2 separate regions of the Homo sapiens genome follow, and region 2 is linked to region 1. The links are contacts of gene promoters, found by promoter capture Hi-C in blood cells and fetal thymus (Javierre and others, 2016). All regions are on one chromosome and are shown on one strand. Each heading gives the region's core, a stretch centred on a gene start or on the middle of the fragment in contact. The rest is flanking DNA. Distances are from core to core; before and after follow the strand shown.

Evidence for each region. Contacts are between HindIII fragments. The CHiCAGO score rates a contact against its expected background, and 5 or more counts as called.
Region 2: a fragment that was not itself captured here is called in contact with the fragment with the promoter of ADCY7 in region 1 in 1 of 17 cell types (M1 macrophages); the score reaches 7.9 in M1 macrophages.

What each region holds. Positions count from the first base shown.
Region 1 is chr16:50,264,591-50,269,551 of GRCh38, forward strand. It overlaps ADCY7 (adenylate cyclase 7), which reads left to right and starts at 1,961. Exons shown (of 26, transcript NM_001114.5): 1 at 1,961-2,090. RefSeq lists enhancers at 1-37, 1,105-1,698, 1,644-1,733. The HindIII fragment of the contact is 14,845 bases long and covers 1,757-4,961 here.
Region 2 is chr16:50,028,218-50,033,094 of GRCh38, forward strand. It overlaps CNEP1R1 (CTD nuclear envelope phosphatase 1 regulatory subunit 1), which reads left to right. Exons shown (of 6, transcript NM_001281789.2): 3 at 1,508-1,581. Among named protein-coding and RNA genes, the nearest start is that of CNEP1R1, 5.4 kb to the left of the region's middle. The HindIII fragment of the contact is 1,910 bases long and covers 2,575-4,484 here.

The DNA.
Region 1 (4,961 bases), core at 711-3,210:
GAGAGTGAAGAGCTGCTTCTCCTCCTTGTCAACACTTGGTATTTTCATTTTAATTTTAGCCATTCTAGTGGTACAGTGGAATCTCTATATGGTTTTAATTTGCTGGTGGCTAATGATGTTGAGTATCTTTTTCATGTGCTTATTGGTCATTTTGGCATCCTCTTTGTTGAAGTACCTGTGTAAGTCTCTTGTTCATCTTTTAATTGGGCCATTTGTCTTTTTCTTATTGGTTTGTGGGAGGTCTTTTTTTTTTTTTTTTTTTCTGAGACAGAGTCTCACTCTGTTGCCCAGGCTGGAGTGCAGTGGTGTGATCTCGGCTCACTGCAACCTCTGCCTCCCAGGTTCAAGTGATTCTCCTGCCTCAGCCTCCCAAGTAGCTGGGATTACAGGCTCATGCCACCACGCCTGGCTAATTTTTGTGCTTTTAGTAGAAACGGGATTTTGCCATGTTAGCCAGGCTGGTTTCAAACTCCTGACATCAGGTGATCCGCCCACCTTAGCCTCCCAAAGTGCTGGGATTACAGGCATGAGCCACCATGCCAAGCCTGGGAGATCTTTATATATGCTAGGGAGGAGTCTTTTGTCAGTCATATAGGATGTGACTTTCTCCTAGTCAGTGGCTTGTCTTTCCCCTCTTTTGATGATGATGATGTCTGTTCCTTCTCTGCTCTGGGACATTTGCTAGGGAGACATTTGCTGATAGGAGGGCGACCCTGATGGGGAGGATCCCCTGAGGTCTCCCACTCCCTCCTGTGGCCTCTGGAGCAGCCTGGAACCCTGTGTGAGTCCTATGCCTGTCTCCACCAGATGGCAGACCTTAGATCACCTGCTAGTTCCCTGCATGGGGCCTGGCACAGAGACAGCACCTAACATGTTCAGTTCCTCCTGATCAGTATGTGTGGGATGTCTACTCTGTGACCAGCTGGGGCTGGACGCTGGGGACACAGCTGTTGATATTACAGCTGCCCTCCCATCTCTGCCCTCCTCAAGGATATAACCTAGGAAAGACAGACCAGCAACCAGTGGTCACAGCACAGAGGTGCTGTGATGGAGGAAGGTGCAGGGGTTAGAAGACCAGAAGAGGGGTGTCTGACCCTGGATGTGGGAGGTGGAGGAGGTACACCATTGCTTTGAGGAGCTCGTAATCCCAGGATGCCAGTCACATGCTCAGAAGGGCTCCCTGAGGACCAGGTGCTGCTGTGGCCAGCGGGCTGGAGGCCTCCCCCTCTGTTTTGGGAGTCTCCACTCTCTCCTCTTAGCCTCTCCTGATCTGCTCCCTCGCCACTGAGCGCCCCATGATCCCAGTGGGGAAACTGAGGCCTGGCATAGCAGAAGGGGTGCTGGGGTTTGATTCCCAGCCTCATGGTGCCCAGGGATGTTGGGGGCTCTCCAGGGACTCTGATTTTGGAATAGGAGCCCCAAGGATGGGCCTGCCCCTGCCCTGCTCCCAGCATGGGAGCGTAGGTGAGATGGAGAGGCAGTGGGCTGGGCTGGAAGATCTTTGACCTCTCCTGGGCCCCTCTCAGAGGTGGACGGGGCCACCTTACTACATAGATAGGGAAATTGAGTCCCAGGAAGGCGCGGGGGGCCTGTCTGTGAGCGTCAGAGCCCACAGGAGGCTCAGGCCAGGCCGCTAATTGCTAATTGCTCACTAAGGATGCATTTGCTCCCCACTTTGAACAGTTGTCTTGGGGCTTCTAATGGAGGTTTTTGGTGCTTGTTTTATTATTATTTTTTCAAAATTGTTCCAGCTTCAAGCTTCAAATTTCCATGAAGTCATTGGAGCCCGACAGCTCCCAGGCCTGGCAGCTCCCAGGCTGCGGAGAGCAGCACTGTGGCTGGGGGAGGGGGCCCTGCACACCCCGAGAGGCTGGGCTGTGGGCTGTGCCTTAGCCTTGCTGCCGCCGCCGCCGCTGCTGCCGCTGCCGGAGCAGGAAGTGGTGGGTCCCAGATGTGACTCACTCTCATTAGGTAGCGTGGAAGGAGCCTTCGGATGGGTGAGCCTGGGCGCGTCTGAGGAAGGGCAGGCGGGGGCCGGGCCACCTCCCTGCAGACCCTGGCCGGCTGCTGGGGCCGGGGAGGAGAGCCAGGTAAAAGTGGGGTGTGGGGATGGAGTGTCACCAGTCCTAGTGGCTTGAGCCCCAGGGGACGGGGCTGGACAGTGGGTGGGAAGCAGCTCACCCGGCAGCCTGGCCTGGGAGTGCACTGGGCAGGGTCTGGGCTGGGGGAGTAGGAGGCTCCGTGAGCCTACTGGGCAGATGGCTGGGAGAGGCGGCCCTTCAACAGGGGACCAGAGGCGACTTGTCACTGGCTTTTCCCAGCCTGACAAGAAAGTGCGGTTGTGACCACAATGTTGTACATGTGGCCCGTTCCATCTGGAATTCTAGGAACCACAGACTCTCAAATGTCCACACTCCTTCTCGAGGGTGTAATTTTACATTTACAAGCACACATGACTTTTCTCAATGAAAGGAAACATTGGCAAGGGAAGGCCAATTCAACTAATTTTATGAAATTATAAAACAAAAAACAAACAAAACCTCTGAAAGGAGTGCATGCCTGAGGGTCAGGAAACCAAGATGCCTCCAAAAAGCAGACTGGTTTCCCTTTCCCTGCAATGCCTCTCCTCTATCCCCCAGGGACCGCATGGGCCATCTGGAGTGGGTCTTTCTGGAGCGGGTCTTTCTGGAGCTTTCTATGCATTCATCTAAACATGTATGTACAGAGGGTGAGGCAGTTGCCTCTTCTCTGTGTCATCACATCAGGGTCAAGGGCAGGGACATCTGTGGCTGGGGGCTTCCTCCCTGGACAGCCATTGCTGGAGAGGAGAAGGGAGGGCCGGGAGGGGGAAGCCAAGGGCCTGGAGGTAGGGGCCAGGCCGAGCCACCTACGACAGGGGCCCTGGGTCCAAGGCCTGGACGGGCAGCCAGTGTGGGCTGGATGTGTCTGGAAGGGCTATGTGACCGTGGGCCTTCACTAGCATCACCATCTTGCAGATGGAGGCTGTGAGGGGTGGACTCAACACCAGTGTTTCTCGGAGTGAGGACCGGGCTGCCCAGGGAATCACAGGGGGTTCTAGCCTGTGTGTGGAAGGACATGTTTAAAATCTAAGTATTTGTCTTGGGGAAAAAAAAATCTGTAAATAGGACATTGCCATTGTGACATCATGACTGTATTATTGTCTTAGACGAGGCCAAAGGAGACATAAAAGTGACAAGCCAGCCAATTTGAGAGGAAGTGCCAAGTGCCAGCCCTGCAGGAAGTGCAGGAGGCTGAGGGGGCTGCAGCTCAGGAAGGCGTTTGCTGCACAGCCTTCGCTTCCCACCCAGTTGTCTGTCTTCCCACCTCCAGAGGCCCTGGGTTCCCAAGGTTTACCTGCAGCTCCTGGTGCAGAGTGTGGGGGAGGGGAGGCTCTCAGATTGTTCCAGATTCTGTGGCCCTCAGAAGGGCAGGTGTGAGCTTTGTGGAGGTAGCGTCTCCGGTGGTATTTTCTTTCTTTCTTATTTTTATTTATTATTATTTTTTGAGATGGAGTCTCTGTCTGTTGCCCAGGCTGGAGTGCAGTAGTGACCCTCTTGGGTCACTGTAACCTTTGCCTCCTGGGCTTAAGCCGTCCTCCTCCCTCAGCCTCCTGAGTAGCTGGGACTACAGTTACCACACCACTACACCTGGCTAATTTTTGTATTTTTAGTAAAGTAAAGACGGGGTTTCACCATGGTGGCCAGGCTGGTCTCAAACTCCTGACCTCAAATGATCCATCCACCTCGACCTCCCAAAGTGCTGGGATTATAGGTGTGAGCCACCACCCCCAGCCTCTTTTCTTTTTTTAAGACAGGATCTCACTCTGTCACCCATGCTGGAGTGCAGTGGAGTGGTCATAGCTCACTGCAACCTTGAACTCATGAGCTCAGGCAATCTTACCGCCTCAGCCTTCTAAAGTGCTGGGATTACAAGCATGAGCCCGACGCCCAGCCTTCTAGTGCTGTTTTCATGAAAGAAGCAGCTGTTTACTAGCAGCTGTTTTCCGGGTGATGAGGGTGAAGGTGGTATTGCAGAACATCTTTGCCAGGAGTAGGTCTGGGAGGTTTGCTTGAGGGCATGGAGGTTGGTGTAGGGAGAGCTCAGGAAGTAGAAATTGGGCTGGAGTGTGGCCTCTGGACAGGCCACAGGAGAGTCTCAAAAGGAGAAAAGATCCCAGCACTTTGGGAGGCCAAGGTGGGCGGATCACTTGAGCCCAGGGGTTCGAGACCAGCCTGGGCAACATGGCGAAACCCCGTCTCTACAAAAAATACAAAAATTAGCTGGGTGTGGTGGCGTGTGCCTGTAGTCCCAGCTACTTGGGAGGCTAAGGCAGGAGGATCCTTTGAGCCCAGGAGTTGGAGGCTGTAGTGAGCCATGACTGTGCCACTGCACTCCATCCAGCCTGGGTGACGGAATGAGACCCTGTCTCAAAATAAATAAATTTTTCAAAAGAGACAAAAGTCCGACTCGATGGTTGCACTGGGGACATGCACCCCACTCTACAATTTATAGCTACTGATTTGACCCATTCCCCACCTCCTCCACCGCTCCATATGGTAGGTGCCGTTCACCTCCAGTTTACAGAGGAGACAGGGCCCAGAGGGGCTGTCTATCCTGAATAACCCAGCAGATCGGTCCTCAGGCATCCAGTTGTGCCCACCACAGTGTGGTCTGCTGCCACATTTGAGCCTGGAGTCAGGGCCAGCACACTGTGTCTTTGGCGAGATCAGATGGGGCAAAGCTGAGAACAGGGGCTCTGGTTGGTGCTGAGGGATTCGTGGGGGTGGTCCTTACTGGGAAGATGAGGAATTGGGCTCCTGTGAGGGCCTCCCCTACCCTGCCCTGTGCCTGGACTTCGCTGGGCCCACTGCGGGAGAGAAGAGGTAGGACGAGGCCTTCTGCGTGGCTGGGCCAGGGTGGGCTGTCTCACGTGCTTTCCT
Region 2 (4,877 bases), core at 2,280-4,779, 230 kb before region 1:
CCCAAAGTGCTAGGATTACAGGTGTGAGCCACCACGCTGGGCCAAATAGTTTTAATTTCCTAGATGGTCATTATTTAGATTTAATTCCTATCAAGAAGGAAGTGTAGTAGCACACATTGAGGATTTACTTTATTTCAAAGTGTAAATCAGTTTGCTGGACCAAAAAAGCACTATTGAAGCTAAGGATCTAAGGATCTGGCAAGATTTTTTTGTATAATTTTTATTAAATCTATTTGCAAAGTTTTATTAGTATGCTGTGAGAATTCTGGTTGGTCAGAATTTACAGGTAATGATTTTCCTAGGTTCTCTGGTTTACCTAGGAATTATCCCCAAAACCTATGTTTCACTGTTACTTGAAAATCTTTTAAAATGTATATGATACTGCCCTATCTTATAAAATGTGATATAAATATACTTTACTTTTTCTCTGACTCATGGTCTTAGCACTTACTTGGTTAATGAACCAGTCAAATAAAGCATGTGTATGAGGTCCTTTCTAGTGTATTGATTTTGCTTTTTCTTATTTTTTTAAAACATACATGTGTAATATAGTGCATTTCTGGAAATACAGAATTGTAAGAAATTGAGTTCAGTCTGTTCTGAGTTCAGAACATAGTTTTGATATTTTGATCCTATTTAATACCTAAAACAAGATTTTTTTTCTTTAGTTTACGTCTTCTAAAAGTACATCAAGGAATTCTAGATAATTAAGGTTTTACTATATTTGTATATTTGCTATATTTCTGTTGTTCTTGGAAACTGAATTTCCACATTTGAAAAATGTATGCATCCTAGCTGAAAGACAGGCAACGGTCATCATCTCCAGAATATTAACTGGGTCTTGATGCCCCTTTATTATTTTTTACTAATACCATTCTTAAGTTTTACTTATGATTTATTTAGAATTTCTAAAATCATTCTAGCTTAGTGGAGAGAAAGACCTTTTCTAAGTTTTACTGGCAGTAATTTCTACCCTACCTTTCTTTAAGTCTCTTAAAGAAAATCCGATACTAACTGGTGTGCTCCATACTTCCTGCACTGACTTTAATGTAACCATGGCAGTCATCTGCAAAGCAAAATCCTTTAGTCAGTCTTCTCAGTACATTCAAAAAGGAGTCTTTGATGGTTTGTTTACAGTAGAAAATGAGTTTGTTTTTTTAATTTGAGTTTACAAGATCTGCAAAATCTTCACTAAGCACAGTGAACGTTACATAGCGTAGACTCTTCTACTGAAGTGTCACCATCGAATTGCTTTTTATTTCATTGATCATCATAAGTTCTGACCAAATCATAAGAGAAACAGTATCCTTAATTACTAAGGTTCACAATGTTTAAGAGAATTCCTCGAAGCCAGATGGCAAGCCTTCTAATTCCTGAGTCTAGTTAGTGCATTTTCCATTTAATAAAGTGCTATATTCTTTGGTTGTCATTTAGTAGGAACTGGTGGTGATAGTATCACATATTAAGTATGTATTTGCTTACTAATTTCGTGTTTATCTTTCATCAGTGCTTCTTATAGTGGTATCTGTCTGTACAGCTACTGGTGCCTGGAACTGGTTAATAGACCCTGAGACACAAAAGGTAGAAGTTTTGTTTTAAAATCATTAGCATAATTAAATGAGATAATGGATATTGTAGTGCTTTGTTAATGATAAAGTATTCAAACACTACCTATTAACTACTACTAGTGATATTGTCATATTAAAAATATGCCTTTTATTAATTTGCTCAAGGAAGATTTTGGCTGGCTATTGTGAATTAAGTATGTCTACAGGGAAAAGGTCTAAGAGATGCTATTATTTCTTAGACATTTATTTGTTATTTGTCATTCACTTCTGAATTTATCATTTTTACATTTTTTTTATATCTCTCATTTTTACTTCAGTGTGAGTATTATCTTCATTCTGCTTTGTTCATTGAGTGTCATCAGTGCCAGCTTTTAAAAGTTCTAAAATAGGCCAGGCATGGTGGCTCATACCTGGAATCCCAACACTTTGGGAGGCCAAGGGAGGAGTTCAAGACCAGCCTGGGCAATGTCATATAGCAAGACCCCATCTCTACAAAAAATTTAAAAATCAGCCAAGTGTAGCATGCTGTACCCAGCTACTTGGGAGGCTGAGGTGGGAGGATCACTTGAGCTCAGGAGATCGAGGCTGCAGTGAGCTATGATTGTGCCACTACACTCCAGCCTGTGTGACAGAGCTAGACCCTGTCTCAGAAAAAAAGAGGGAGAGAAAAAAATTGTAAAATAACATTTTCTTCTATGAGTTATCTCTGTTAATACCTTTCTTCATCCCATAAAACACTGGAGATGACTTTACAGGAAACACACATGATAAAATAGCAAAATACACATATAATAAAAAGTCAGGACTAGATAAAAACAAGTTGGACCATGAGGTCAAAACCAGAAAGGAAACCAGCTCACTGATGTATAGGCCATGTTTCCCAACACACTTGCCAGAATTGGATTATAAATTAGTCTCTGAGTTACCTAATCAGTGAAGTCACAGTTAATTCTGTGATTTTCATTGCCTGTAAGATAACACATATATCAATTCCTTGGGCTAGCAAAGCTTTTCTTTCCCAACATTTATCTCTGAAAAAAAATTTCTTGCCTGAAGTTTAATACAGGAAACACTGAGGGATCTCCCACTGGGCACTGTGCAAGAATATCCCTATACCAAATGCAATAACTGATTTCATAATGTTATTCCTTGAAGCATCCTTTGATGAAAGCTGATAGCATGTTTCTCAAATTTCCACCTCTTTCTACTAATTTGTGCTTTAATTTCAAACTCAGGGCTTTTTTTTATTAGAGAAGTAGTTAGTCTCCAATTTTTTAGTGAAGTTTCTTTCCCCCAGTGCAGTTTTATTTAGGGAGTAATGATGTAATTTTCACAAATCTTAAAAATCCCCTCCCCGCTTTAAGCTGCAATTAAGTAGACTACTTTCAGTAGCTCTATTTGTACCTTTTAGGTTTTACAGAAGAAAAGCCTAAGAGAAGGCTTTTGTCATCAGTCTCCATGGCAATTCAGACAGCCAGAGAAGTTTATTTCGCATATAGTCTCCCTAACTTTATCTGCTGAGGTGGAGATATTTAAAAGGATAGGAAGCAAGGGGAGATTGGTGATGGAATTTTATGTTAATAGAGGATTTTTATGGCAGACAGGAAACTCTCTTGTGTGTTCATTTATAAAAATCTGATCTTAAGGCTGCACTTGGTAGTCATCTTTAGGGGAAGAGTGGAAAGAGGCTGGCAAGAAGATTGAAAAAGATCCATCTTGGGAAATGAGTCTGACTTCTAATTGGGAAAAATATAAGCTGATCTCAGCTAGTTGAGATCTTAATAAAACACAGAATTAAATGTAATTTGAAATAGGCCCAAAACTATGTAGTTAATATAATTTTCTAAATTAGGTGAGAATATAACTATTCGCCTAAGGGTTGGCTCTTTATATTTCAGTATTTAATAACCCCAAACCTGACAGGAGTTTTAACCAGCAATTGTATCTGTAGCAAGAGTTGCAAACTCAGGAGCAGTGGCTAGGTAGAAGAACCTAGGGAGAGAAAGAATATGGCAGACAGGAAGTACCTGACTGCCTGGCCTGGAGAGAACTGCTGTTTCAATGCATTGGAGTGTTGCCATGGAGGGAGGAAGGCTGAAACTGATGGCCTAATTAAAATGAAGACATAAAGCACTGTATATGCTAACCTGGTGCAGGCCACACACAACAGAGCTGGCTTATGAGAAACTCCTCGGAGGTTTGAAGAAGACGTTCTTCTGGAATATTAACTTTTCCTTGGGTCATCATCTTTCTGGGAGCTTCTTTCCTGGTATTTTCAGCCTCTCATTTCTTCATCTGACAAACTTCTGTAACCAGTACCATGCTGAGCCATCTACCTGGTGCTTCTGTCTTGAAACACGTGCCTGCGCGTCTCCTGCTGTGAGAGTGGAGTGGGGATGTGCTTAACTTGATTCTCTTGCTCCCATCTAGTTACTAATCCACTTGATTTCTTTCTACACAGGCTCTAAATGCTTGTCTTCTCTGTGTCTCCAGTCAACGTTTCCATTTCGGTGCCTATTCTTATTCCAGTCATGGATCCTGGACCCTTGTCCCTCTACATATTCTTAGACTTGTGGATTGTCCTGTTTTCTGCTATCATTTGATATGTCCAGATCTGAAATCAGCCCTTTCTTTCTCCTTCGTTCTAGTTCTTTATGGATAGCTACTAATCGTTTTTCCCTACTTGAATGTCCTGTGGTCATTTAGATCTCAGTAGCTTCAAAACCAAATTTGTTTTTTGCCTCTGCAGGGAGGAAGGGGTGATGCTGGAATTGAGTGTTATGAGGATATGTAAGAGTTAGCCAGGTGGAGGGAGAGAGGTGAACAAGGCAGCATATGTGTGGAAATATGGCAGGAGATGAAAATTAGACTGGGATCAGGTTATGAATGGCAGAGTTTGCTCAACTCTTTTAAGGAAGCTTTTTAACAGTAAAGGTAGGCTGAGCGTGGTGGTTCACGCCTGTAATCCCAGCACTTTGGGAGGCCGAGGCGGGCAGATCACCTGAGGTCAAGAGTTCAAGACCAGCCTGGCCAACATAGTGAAACCCCGTCTCTACTAAAAGTACAAAAATTAGCCGGGTGTGGTGGTGGGCGCCTGTAATCCCAGCTACTTGGGAGGGTGAGGCAGGAGAATTGCTTGAATCCTGGAGGTGGAGGTTGCAGTGACCTGAGAATGTGTCATTGCACTCCAGCCTGGGTGACAAGAGTGAAACTCTGTCTCAAAAAAAAAAAAAACAGGGAAGGTAACTAAATCAAGTTTGATTTGTGTTTTCATTGAGACCAGAGGCCTCATCTTCACTCATTCAATGC